2 separate regions of the Homo sapiens genome follow, and region 2 is linked to region 1. Evidence: promoter capture Hi-C in 16 types of primary human blood cells and fetal thymus (Javierre and others, 2016). All regions are on one chromosome and are shown on one strand. The core of a region is centred on a gene start or on the middle of the fragment in contact, and the rest is flanking DNA. Distances in the headings are between cores, read along the strand shown. Region 1 holds the start of CNMD (chondromodulin). Region 2 has its middle 48 kb from the start of OLFM4.

The links. Contacts are between HindIII fragments. The CHiCAGO score rates a contact against its expected background, and 5 or more counts as called.
Region 2: a fragment that was not itself captured here is called in contact with the fragment with the promoter of CNMD in region 1 in 1 of 17 cell types (endothelial precursors); the score reaches 6.4 in endothelial precursors.

What each region holds. Positions count from the first base shown.
Region 1 is chr13:52,737,632-52,743,611 of GRCh38, reverse strand. CNMD (chondromodulin) reads left to right here and starts at 3,792. Exons shown (of 7, transcript NM_007015.3): 1 at 3,792-3,982; 2 at 4,441-4,581. The coding sequence starts at 3,911. RefSeq lists an enhancer at 5,721-5,980. The HindIII fragment of the contact is 4,345 bases long and covers 1,069-5,413 here.
Region 2 is chr13:52,977,565-52,984,001 of GRCh38, reverse strand. No RefSeq gene overlaps it. Among named protein-coding and RNA genes, the nearest start is that of OLFM4, 48 kb to the left of the region's middle. The HindIII fragment of the contact is 2,463 bases long and covers 2,395-4,857 here.

The sequences.
Region 1 (5,980 bases), core at 2,543-5,042:
CCAGGGAATGGGCCTACAGGTGGGCCCAGCAGCAGAGTGGGTAGAAGAAAGCAAGCCTGTGAAAGGGGGCACCCCTTTGATTTCATTCTTCACGAGTGTCTAAGTTCATTTTGTGCTGCTAAAACAGAATACCACAGGCCGGTTAATTTATAAACCAAGCTTATTTGGCTTATGGTTCTGGAGGCTGGGAAGTCCAAGAGTAAGGTGCTGTACCTGGTGAGGGCCTTTGTGGCAGAAGGTGGAAGAATGAGAGAACACATGCCCATGTGAGAAAGGGAAAGGGAGCCAAACTCATCCTTTTATCAGGAACCCACTCTCATGATAACTACCCCACTCCTGCAACAGTGGCATTGATCCTTTCACAAAGGCAGAACCCTCATGACCTAATCATCTCTTAAAGGTCCACCTCTCAACACTTGCATTGGGAATTCAGTTTCCAGCACATGAATTTTGAGAAACACATTCAAACCACAGCAATGAGCCTCCCAGTCTTGCTCCCTTACTGCTTTTTCTACTGCCTTTTCATTATCTATAACCATCATCATGTGAACACACTACCTTAAAATTGTTGAAAATATGCCACTTTAGGAGAATGTGCTCAGAGGAGGCAACTGATCTCCATACCCACTCCTCACCCCTCACGCCCTGGTCAGCTACTTTCTGTATATTATGTGTTAAAAATGTATGAATGAGGCAAGGTCTTGCATTTCCCCTGATTCCTCACCCTCTCTTCAATGTCTGTTTGGCCCCAAAGTATCCACTCACCACTCACTCCCTCCAGTCCTTCTCTCCTTCTCAAGGTTCATCAAGGGAAGGTGGTACCTTCCTTGATCCTCTAACTCCCCTCATCTAAAACTTCCTTACATTCATCCTTCTTCCCCTCAAGTTGAAAGTTGTTAAAAGAATTGTCTCCATTTGTAGCATTCACTTCCTCCCCACCTACTCACTGTTATTTAGTGCTTTATTCACTCAATTCCTGAATAGCTAATGCGTGTTCACAATATAGAATTCAAAACATTTCAGAAGGTTCACAGTTAAGCATCTTCTTTCTACTGGTCTCCCCAAGCTTCACATTTTCCTCAGAGGCAACCCCCACTACCAGCATCTTATCTTTCCAGAAAGCATATACTTACATTTATTCTTGTTTGTATTTCTTTATACAAATGGAAGCATTTCTACGCATTTTCTACCTTTTGCTTTTTTCACTTGAAGTATCTTAGAGAGTGTTCTATCTACATCACTACATCCAAAGCTGCCTCATTCTTTTAAAGGGCTGCCAAACCCCCACGGTGAGAATGGATCATAAATTGTCTACTCTGGACATTGAGTATATTACTAGTGCTTTGTTCTAACAAACATGCTGCAGTGAGCATCGTTGCACCTGCAGGATTTTTCCACCCTTGTGAGTGCATCTGTAGGATAAATCCATAGAAATGAAACTGCATTTTGCATTTTGGAATTAAATTGTTCTCCATAGAAGTTGTACCAATTCACCCACTACAGTAGTCCATAAATTCACTGCCCCTCATATTTTTCAACAGATTGTTTTAACAAGCGTTTTTATGTTTTTCCAGTCTCATAGGTGAACCAGTCTACTTTTAATTTGCATTTCCTTGTATGAATGCAGTTGTGGCCAGGCGTGGTGGCTCATGCCTGTAATCCCAGCATTTTGGAAGGTCAAGGTGGGCGGATCACTTGATGTCAGGAGTTCGAGACCAGCCTGGCGAACGTGGTGAAACCCTGCCTCTATTAAAAATAGAAAAATTAGTCAGGCATGGTGGCTGGCGCCTGTAATACCAGCCACTTGGGAGGCTGAGGCAGGAGAACCACTTGAACCTGGGAGGTGGAGGTTGCAGTGAGCCAAAATCGCACCACTGCACTCCAGCCTGGGCGATAGAGCAAGACTCTGTCTCAAAAAAAAAAAAAAAAAAAAAAAAAAAAAGGCAAAATAATGCTGTTGTTCATTCTTCTTACATTTAAGAGAAATTTCTACTTCTTGCTTCACCAACTCTCTGTTTCCATTCTTTGCCATTTTTTCTACTACATTTTTGGTCTTTTGGTTTTCCTAGGAAAACACTATATAAGAAAACTAGTTCCTTGTCTGTGGTATAAGTTGCAAATATTTTTAATCACTCTGTAACCCTTTGCAATGTGTCTTCTGTGCCCAGGGAAGCAAATGGAACTACTCTCTCGCTGGTTCCCATGGCCTCTTGGTTGTGCCCTTCCAAGGCCTTTCTCTGTGCTCATTTTTTTTCAGCATTTGACACTGCTGACCCACCCTTCTTGAATGTGCCTTTAAAATTACATGTACTACTTTATATTGTACCATCTCCCACCTCTCTGACAGTTACTTCTCTTATTCCTTCACCAAAATTCCTGTGAAGAATGCCCTTGTGAAAAGAGGTCTTTGAACTCTGCCTCAGCAGTGCCCCAGGGATGAGCCCTGGCTGGAGATCTTGCTGGAGTTTTTTCCAAGCACCTTAAGTCTAGTGTGATGTGCAGACAGCTGTTTCCATAGCTGATTCCAATGCAGGCTCAGGACATTTCCTTGGCTCTTTTACTTTTCATCCCCACATCAAGCTCAACATGTCTAAAACTGTTTCTTCCAATTTTTTCACTTCCCTAGGGTTCCTATCACTCTCCCAATCCTCCTAGGTCTGAAAACTCAGTTCCCACAGCCCAGGAATTGCCAAGTCCTATCGATTCTTCTGTGAAAGTGGTCTCCTCCACTTCTCCCCTCCTTCCCAGCCCCAGGTCATCATGCTTGTCACCTCATTCTTCATCACATGTCTTGGATGATTCTTCAACACTTTCTCCTTCTGCAGTCCTGCACATGCAATCTCCCGCTGCCCTTTGGGGAAGCCTCAATCCCTCTCATGCACTAGTGCTCCTCACTTACACCTCACCAGAGAGCTCTGCACAAAGCTAGAATCGAACGCAATTTAAGGAAGCCTGGATCCAAATGAAGTACCATGTATCCTGGAACTGGAAGATGGCATTTCCAAAAGTGAAAATTTTATATACATACATACATACACACACACACACACACACACACACACATTTGTGTTATTCCTTTGGATACATCAGTACTCTGTGTGTGTGTGTGTGTGTGTGTGTGTGCTTTGCCATTGTTGCTTTTGTTTGCACTTATTTAATTTATTCAACCAACCAGCATGCACTTTTATTCTGGTCTCCCCAACTCCTTCCCTCCAGCCCTGCTCTGCTTAGCTCTCACTTTTGCTGCAGTTGTACCCAGACCCTAGAAAAACTGGTGGCAAGGAGCCATCCCTAAGACCCTGCTCTGTTTTCCAGTCCCAGGGGCCATCCAGCAATGCCAGGCCAGTGAGAAGGTGGCCTAACCCTTACACTCTTAGGCCAGTGTCCCCTGTCCACCTGCACCACTCTGTTGTCTTCTCCTTCACCTTCCATGAGCCATCTTCCCCCCACCCCCACCCCAACACACACCTACAAAGACCCTGCAGGAAATGGCCTCCAGCCAGTTGTCACAGCAGAGCCCGCTGACATTCTAAGACATCCTCCGGTGCATGGCTAATTGCTCTGGCACTTGAGTATTTCTTTGGGTCCCAGGATTCAGCATCCCGCTCTGAGGGATGCAACCACCCCCACACATTCAGAGTCACCGGGATGCTGTTTGGGGGGCCAGTAGACAGGATAGAGTGAGGAGGAAAGGGGGCATCCGGGAGTGCAGGACGAGCTTCCCGCGGCGGGAGAGAGAAGGGAGGAGAGAGGTGAGGCGCTGGAAGGGGTGGGGACCGCTGGGCTGGCCCAGGCGGGACCGTGCACCGTGTGTGCGCGCGGCGTTGAAATGCCCTGCACGTCGGGGCAGCGGGACAGATCCCAGGGTGCCCAGGGAGTCTCCAAGTGCCTCACTCCTCCCGCCGCAAACATGACAGAGAACTCCGACAAAGTTCCCATTGCCCTGGTGGGACCTGATGACGTGGAATTCTGCAGCCCCCCGGTGAGTACCGCCAGGGATTCCACACGCAGGGCCTGGGTTGTGTGAGTATCAGGTTCCACAGTTCGGACTCAGGGGTGCGTGCCACCGAATGGGTGTGTTGGCGGGGGGATAAATTTGGGTCCCAAATGTGTGGGTGGGATGTCGCCCCACGCGTATGAGTGTGCAGGGGTCACGGCATCCACAGGCGGGTGCGGAGGGACGTCCCGTGGCCGGTAGAGGGTGCAGGTCCTGGGGCGAAGGCCCTGTGCTGCGGGGTTTGCTCATCCCACTTCCACGCCCGACTGCAAAGGACCCTCGGGAGGGAGCGCGGCGAAAGGGGCACCCGTAGGAGCCCGGGCGAGCTGTTTCCCGCCCGACTCCCCACTCCCTGGGGGCTACCGCGTGGGGCCCGGGTGCGCTGGGGGCCGCAGGTGCTGGCGGCACAAACGCGACGGTCCCTCTCCCGCCCCGGCCCGCAGGCGTACGCTACGCTGACGGTGAAGCCCTCCAGCCCCGCGCGGCTGCTCAAGGTGGGAGCCGTGGTCCTCATTTCGGGAGCTGTGCTGCTGCTCTTTGGGGCCATCGGGGCCTTCTACTTCTGGAAGGGGAGCGACAGTCACGTAAGTCCAGAGGGCGGCGCGCGGGGACCCCCGTGTCGCCCATGGTGCCCCTAGGGGGAGCCCGAGCGCGGGCCGGCGAGGGGCGCGCGGCTGCCGGCGGGCCCCTCGGGCCCAGCGTGAGCTCCCCTCTCCCATCCCACTCTGGCACGCGGCTTTCCGCCTTAGGTCAACGTTGTAGAAAAGCAAGTGAAGGTTTCACGGGAGAAGATTGAAGCGTAGAGTAGGGGAGAATGTAGTGGACGGTCCGAGAAAGGCCGTTCTCGGCTCATCTCCCACTAAGCAGTGGCGCGACCGTGGGGAAGGCACGTCACCTTTTGGCCTCAGTGTACTCGTCCTGAAGGGAAAAAATGGAACTGGACGATCTCTAAGGCCTGTCCCTGCTAAGAAAGGCTGTGGGTTTAAAATCCAGGACAAAGATAGTGGAGGAATATTCAGACCCATATTCAGACCCATTGGGAAGGAATTTTTGCCTTTCAGAAGGTTTTTTTGTGACCTAGCCATGAACATTCCCTTCTCTCTCTGGAAAACAAAAACAAAAAACAAACAAACAAACAAAACGTCTAACTTCCTTAAAGGTGGAAAATCTCTTTAACAATTAATTCTGGCCTAGTCATCACATGTGGTTTAATAGTAGGTGTTTTACTAACTGCTGTCCTACTTTCTTTGTATGCAACTATTTATTTTAAAGCTCCACGGCTCTCGAGGAGTATAAAGACTGTTTCTAAGTTGACTGGGCAGAGCTCCAGTGTGTTCTCTAAATACTCTGAAAGTGTTCACCTATGTAAAAGGGGGCATTTTATCTTGATGACCACTGCCAGGTCTGGTATAAGCTTATTTCAACTAATGGAAAAGAATTCCATCTCCAGGGCACACACAAAGGGCTCTTTCATAATCACTATCCTCAGAGGATTGGTGATTGCTGTTTTTTCCTCTCTCCTACCATGAAATGCAAAGCATGAACGAATTCCAGTACTTACAGAAAATGGTGCTGAAAGCAATTCAACCATTTTACACATCACGTCTTCTGCAGTCACTGCATAATTTGTATTTTTAACTCAAATGTCTAATGTAGATAAGCATGCCATTTAGCACCGAGTCTGTTTTAGAGACTATATCAAATTTACAAGCATCGATTTGTAAGATCAGAATTGCACTGTATTTTGTGGGTATTTGAAAAGTGCCTTAATGTATTTGTATTTTAAATATAGAAGCTGGGCCAGATGCTCATGTTTGAAACAGCAAATGTGAATAAGAGAATGATTTCAATATCTACATCTCCATTAATAGCAGGGTTTAGATTGTCATCTCTTTGGGAAATTCTGTGGTTTTAGAATGTAAATGCTATCTTTTAAATAACAAAGCCTCAATGGTATAGGTCAATGGGGGATAACAATAGCTA
Region 2 (6,437 bases), core at 2,377-4,876, 240 kb before region 1:
CAACAATGAAAGAAGTCACACAGAAGACAAGAATGAGGAAGGAATTAGGGGATTTCTGGGCTTGATATATCCTTAGAGATTTGGAATAATATAGAATGTGTTAAGAGCAAACAGTACACAGAAAAAAACAAAGCCAATTGGAAACATGAGGAAAAAACAACAGTTGTTGAAGAAAGAAAACATAATCATGATACTCTACTTGACTCTGAAGTATAAGATATTCAGATACTCATAATAATGTAATAACTTCATTACTATAACATGAAAAAAGCTCTTTTCAAAGAATGGAGAGAGAAGGATTGGGGAGTAGAGTATAAGTGGTAAATGATCACAGTAGAAAGAGAATAAATAATTTCTAAAGTTGGTAGACCAATAAACAACAATAATCACAAACAGAAACAGCTAGAAAAATTTCAGGCCGGGCACAGTGGCTCATGCCTATAATCCCAGCACTTTGGGAGGCCAAGGCAGGTGGATCACTTGAGGTCAGGAGTTCAAGACCAGCCTGGCCAACATGGTGAAACCCCATCTCTACTAGAAATACAAAAAGTAGCTGGGTGTGCCACGGGGGGGCGGGGAGGGACCTGTAATCCCAGCTACTCGAGAGGCTAAGGCAGGAGAATTGCTTGAACCCAGCGGGGGCAGAGGCTGCAAAGGAGCTGAGACCATGCCACTGCACTCCAGCCTGGGCAATAGAGCGAGACTCTGTGTCCAAAAAAAAAAAAATTTTCAAAGTGGTTGCCTCTGTGAGGTGGGACTGAGAGATGATTGTGAGTGGGGCAGCTCCCACTGCCTTGTATACTTTGCAGTGTTTGATGTTTTTTATGATATTCATCTATTACAGTTGACCCTTGAATAATATGGGAGTTAGGAGCATCGATACCCTGAACAACCAAAAATTCACTGTTTATAACTTTTGACTCCCTAAAATTTAATTATTAATAGCCTACCATTGACCAGACGCCTTACTGATAACATAAATAGTTGATTAACACATATTTTGTATGTTATATGTATCATACAATGTATCATACACTGTAGCCTTACAATAAAGTAAGCTGTAGAAAAGAAAATTAACATTTTCATAAGAAAATCACAAAGAAAAGGAAAATATATTTACTGTTCATTAAGTGAAAGTGAATCATCACAAAGATCTCCATCCTCATCATCTTCCCATTGAATAACCTGAGGAGGAAGAGAAATAATTGTTCTTGCTGCCTTGGAGGTGGCACAGCGGGGAGAAAATTCACATATAAGTGAACCCAGGCAGCTCCAACCCATGTTGTTCAAGGATCAACTGTACTTTGATCATTTTTAAGTGAATGCTATTTTAGGAGAGACTATTACAATGCAAGGGCTATATAATCTTATAAGCTGCGGCATATCAATAAATAAATAAGCAACAATAGGTGATCATGGTTTTATTAGGGAGATACAATGGGGACTAGAAGAAAGGAAGCATGGGTCCATAAAATGCTGTTTGAAAACCCTGCTCTAGAAGTCAGCCCATATGGGTCCCCAGCTAGAGAAATAAAATGTCACCATTTCCATTTTCACTGAGAACCATGGGATTCCACTCTCCAGTTGCTTTTTTAGGTGGTGGGATTTTCTCAGCCCCAAGGCTCTAACAGTGGCTGTTCTGTTGTATTTCCCTAACTGTGTGCCCACCCTGCACATGAGCTAGACAATTCTGAGGGCATTGTCCAAATGTGAAACACACAAGCTGGCATGGCAAAGAGGCTGGAACATAAACCCTGCCACTTACCTAATTTCACTGCTGTCTTCTCATGAGAAATTACTATGTAATCCAATTCTAGCTCCCACATTTTGCAGAATGATAAACTCACCAGAAAAACAAAAACATAGGCTTTTTGGTAAAATCAGTGGATATGTCCAATTGTTCTGGAAAGTTATCCTAGGAGAGATTTGTCCTAAGGACATTTCCTTCTTCATGGAAAGGAAAGCAAAGATAGGCTCATTCTTAAGATGCTGATGGCCAATTCAGCCCCCTCCAGAGAGCAATGCAGTCTCACCTGTCTTGAGGAAAGGTATGCATTTAGAGTGAATCTCTCTCTTGGATTCTATATATAAAAAAACCATTTACCTTTGGGTGATTCTAAGGTATTTATCAATCCACTTGCCTTCTCTCATCTATTCTGCTTCCTCTGGGCCCAGAAGCATTAACGAAAAGCTATTGATCATGTTGAGTGAAATGCTGAAAAAGTTACTGAGAGTCAAAGGGACCCTGCTATGAAGGGGCAGGGAAAGCAGCCAGGCTTCCAACTCAATCAGGGATTTATCTTCAGAGAAAGGTGCTATGTGTTGACAAGGGCTACTTCCATTCTTCTCAAAGGAAAGGGAGGCAGAGGCTCACCTCTGCCCAATGCCAAAGCTTCCCAATGAGGGGACCTAATAAGAGTTTGGAAAGTTTTGCCTCTCAGTCTCTGTAGCTTTTAAATGACTAACCAATCTTATTTTTAGTTAAACCCACTGTCTTCCAGTTCAAAAGTCAGCTTTGTCCTATGAATACATGGTGAGGAAGATAGAAAAGGATAAGGATGAGTCTCTTTGGGAGTGGAGGGGCGGCCACAGCAACTCAGATAGGAACAAAACCCTCTTCAAAGAGGGAATGGAGGGGCTGCCATAGCAACCCAGTTAGGAACAAATCTCCTTCAAAAATGGAGTAGAGGGTCAGCCACAGCAACCCACATAGGAACAAAACCCCCTTCAAAGATGGCAGAGTTTCAAAATGTTAGGTTCTGGGCAGACAAGGAAGGAAGCCTGATCTATGTTTTCTTTGCAATAAACTTTTTACTCATCTGCAGTCAAAATGCCTGCCAATACCATCAGGGTAAGTTGCTAGAGACATTGCAAGATTCCGAATGAGAGGGCAATAAAACATATGTACAGCAGTCCCTTCTTCTCTACGGTTTTGCTTTCCAAAGTTGCAGCTACCCATAGTCAACCGCAGTCTGAAAATATTAAATGGAAAATTCCAGAAATAAACAATGCATAAGTTTTACTTTGCACACTATTCTGAGTCTCGTGATGAAATCTTATGCCATCTCGCTCCATCCAGCCTGGAACATGAATCATCCCTTTGTCCAGTATTTCTATGCTGTATACACTACCTGCCCATTAGTCACTTAGTAGCTGTCATGGTTATCAGATTGAAAAAATATAGTATTTATAGCTTTGGTACTACTCACAGTCTCAGGCATCCACTGGGGGTCTTGGAACATATTCCCCGAGCATAAAAAGAAACTACTATATAAGAAAACAATTAAGGAAGCAATGTGCTTCAGAAAGCACGTGGATGTGTCCAAGTCCTGATTTCAGCACAAAGCCCTTTGCTCCACGAGGTCTTCTAGGCAGCCCTCTTCCATCATTCATCCTTATTCTGGGAATTAAAACATGACCATCAGGAGTGCCTAGGCATTCCTCATTCAACCAAAACAATTTAAGAGGACGTTAGGATTCCCTCATCTTCTCAAAAGCTGACCAAAATTTATTTTCATTCCCTCACTCATTTGAGTTATCCATAGGACACCTTCCTGATAGGCACTTCTCTTCATCCAAAACTCTCTGTGCCCTTTACCTGCTCATCCGAGACTTTGCTGATGCATCACTTTCCTCCAGGAAACCTAGCCTGCCCCCCATAGGTTCAAGAGAAGCACCCCCGATACTTACTCTATTGCATCCCACACTTCCCCAATTAGAAGTATTGTAATACTTGCCGATCTCTCCAGCAAAGCCATACATTTCATAGCAATCATGTCTGTCAGTCAGTGCCTGGCCCACTGTAGGCATGTATTAAGTATTTGTGGAATGAGTAAATGTGAACTACAGAATGGCACTACACCTGGCACTATGAAAATATGAAGATGAATTCTTTCCCGGAGCTGAGGGTCAGGCAGCTGGGATGAGAAATAGCAAGCAAACACACCAATTATTATACGCCAGGCAGTTTCAATTGCATTGCATGTATTAACTCAACCACTGAATTTTCACTATGACCCTCTAAGGAAGGTACTACTACCATCTACATTTTGCAAATAAGGGGACTGAAGCAGAGAATATCTTGCCTAGGCTTCCACAGATAATTGGTGGCAGAGGCAGGATAAAAGCACAGGTAGTTGGCTTCCGAGTCCTTAATGACTTTGCCACATTGCTGAGCTGCAGGTCCCCAAATGAGGACAATACATAGTACTAGGCATGCCAGACATGTGCCTAAAGTGAGGTACGCAGTGCTCCAGAAGACAGGAGGGAGAAATTAATTCCAGTTAAGGAAATTTCTGAGGTCAGACCTTAGCAACTCCCCTTATCCTCTCATCCTTCTTCCCACCTCATAGATTCTGCAAGCCACCAATTTTGGAACCAAGTGCAAAGCCTCAGAACCAATCAACACCCAATCAAACTCAGTGCCCAAGATGTAAATGGAAAGTTGAAGACCTAATTCTAATAAATTTCAGCATGTGGCCATAAATTGCTTTGTGAGTAGAGCTGGTAAAAATCCTTTACCTCCCAGATGAGATAAATATTGCTTGCTAAATATTACACAATGGTGCAACCTGACATAAGGTATGTTTTGAAAGAAAGACCTCTTGTCCTGACCCCTGTATTTACAGACTTAAAAATTGAAAAGATTTAAGATGAGGATTTTTTTTTTAATTTGGCTTTTCTTGTCTTTCATGGCTTTGAAAATAAAGTGGCAATTCATGGCCATAATAGGTAATTCCACGGTGTGCCTTACAGAGAATAAGGAAGGAGTCTTTCGTATTCGGTATTCTTATGTTCCTGCAGGGCCAGAGCCCGTGACCTTGTGCCCTGCAGCTGCTAATGGGAAATACCAAAGCTTGCTCATTCTCCTTTTCCCTCAGCATTTTGAAAAGACAATGAAAACATTCCTTGGCATCTGGTCCCTTAACCCCATCCTACGAACAGTTCTTTCTATCTTTGAAGAGGCCAACATTTATTATTATAATAAATATCATTTTCATACTTCTTGGGAACAGGAGTGGCTGAGGGGAACTGAAGAAAGGGGATTCTATAGGGTGGAAAATAAGAGAGAAGCTGAATTCCACGATGGGCAGTCACTGTGTTTGGGGGCATGATAGGATGATAGGAGTCACTGAGAACAATCATTTTAAGTAAACTTCATAAAGTTGAAATTTTTAAATTGAGGTTTTAGACTTTGGTACTTCAAACATTTACTTGTCCTTCCTCATTAATTTAAACTTCAGAAAAAGCAAAAATGATACTTACTTTTCCCTCCAGAGGAGAGTGCGATATCTTCATGAAGGGACAAATGTGTACTTGGTAAAATTGGTACAGCATTGTGATATGAAGAAAGTAAAAACAGAGTAAAGAGGCCAAAAAAGGTAGCAATGGGGTTTCCCTTTAAACTCTCCTCTGTTTTTCTGGGTAAGTTTCACTCTCTGAGAATACTACTCCTCTTCTTCCAAAACCCATGCCAAAAAAAACCTCTCCTTTAAACTTTCATTCATTCTGTCAGGCAGAGACCATCATGATGCAGTCTATGATTACTTTTCTTTTTTCTTTGAGGCAGGATCTCACTCTGTTGCCCAGGCTGGAGTGCAGTGGTGCTATCATCGTTCACTGCAGCCTTGAACTCCTGGGCTCAAGTGATCCTCCCACTTCAGCCTCCTGAGTAGCTGGGACTGCAGGTGTGTGCCACCATGCCCAGCTAATTTTTTTAATATTTATTTTTTGTAGAAATGAGGTCTTGTTATGTTGCCCAGGCTAGTCTCAAACTCCTGGCCTCAAACAATCCTTCACCTCAACCTCCCGAAGTGCTAGGATTACAGGTATGAGCCACTGCAGTAGCCTATGATTAGTTTTAAAGCTTATTTTCATTGTCCAATGAGCTAATCATCTCTTTCCTGGTTGTCAATTCGTTCTTTTAGAAGTTACTTTTTCCTCAGTGCCATCATCATCATCATCACCATAATCACTATCAGGGCTGCCGTTTGCAGAGTGCTAACAGGCATCATTTCCTATATATGTTGTTTCATTTACCCCCTCACTGCAGCCCTCTGAGACAGGCAGTGCTACTCTCACTGGAGCTGAGCCTCCAAGAGATTGGTAACTTGCTTAAGATCGTAAAGATCAGATCCAGGATTCAAATCCAAGACCAGTGCTTCCAGCATCCTGGAGGCATTCAGATGGGCTTCAGAGGTATCCAACCCCTCACAGTCTGATGGGGACAGCTGTGGTCATTTAGAATACTGGGAGGGACAAAGTAGAACTTGGTCTCCTTTCCAGTGTAGAAGAAGAAATACAGGAAGTTGGAAAGTCACCAGTTTCCCAAAAGGAAAGGCACCTTAGCAGAGCTTCTCAAACTTCACTGTACAAACAAATCATCTGGAAAACTTGCTTAAATGTGGATTCTGATTCAGTGGGTCTGGATGGGCCTG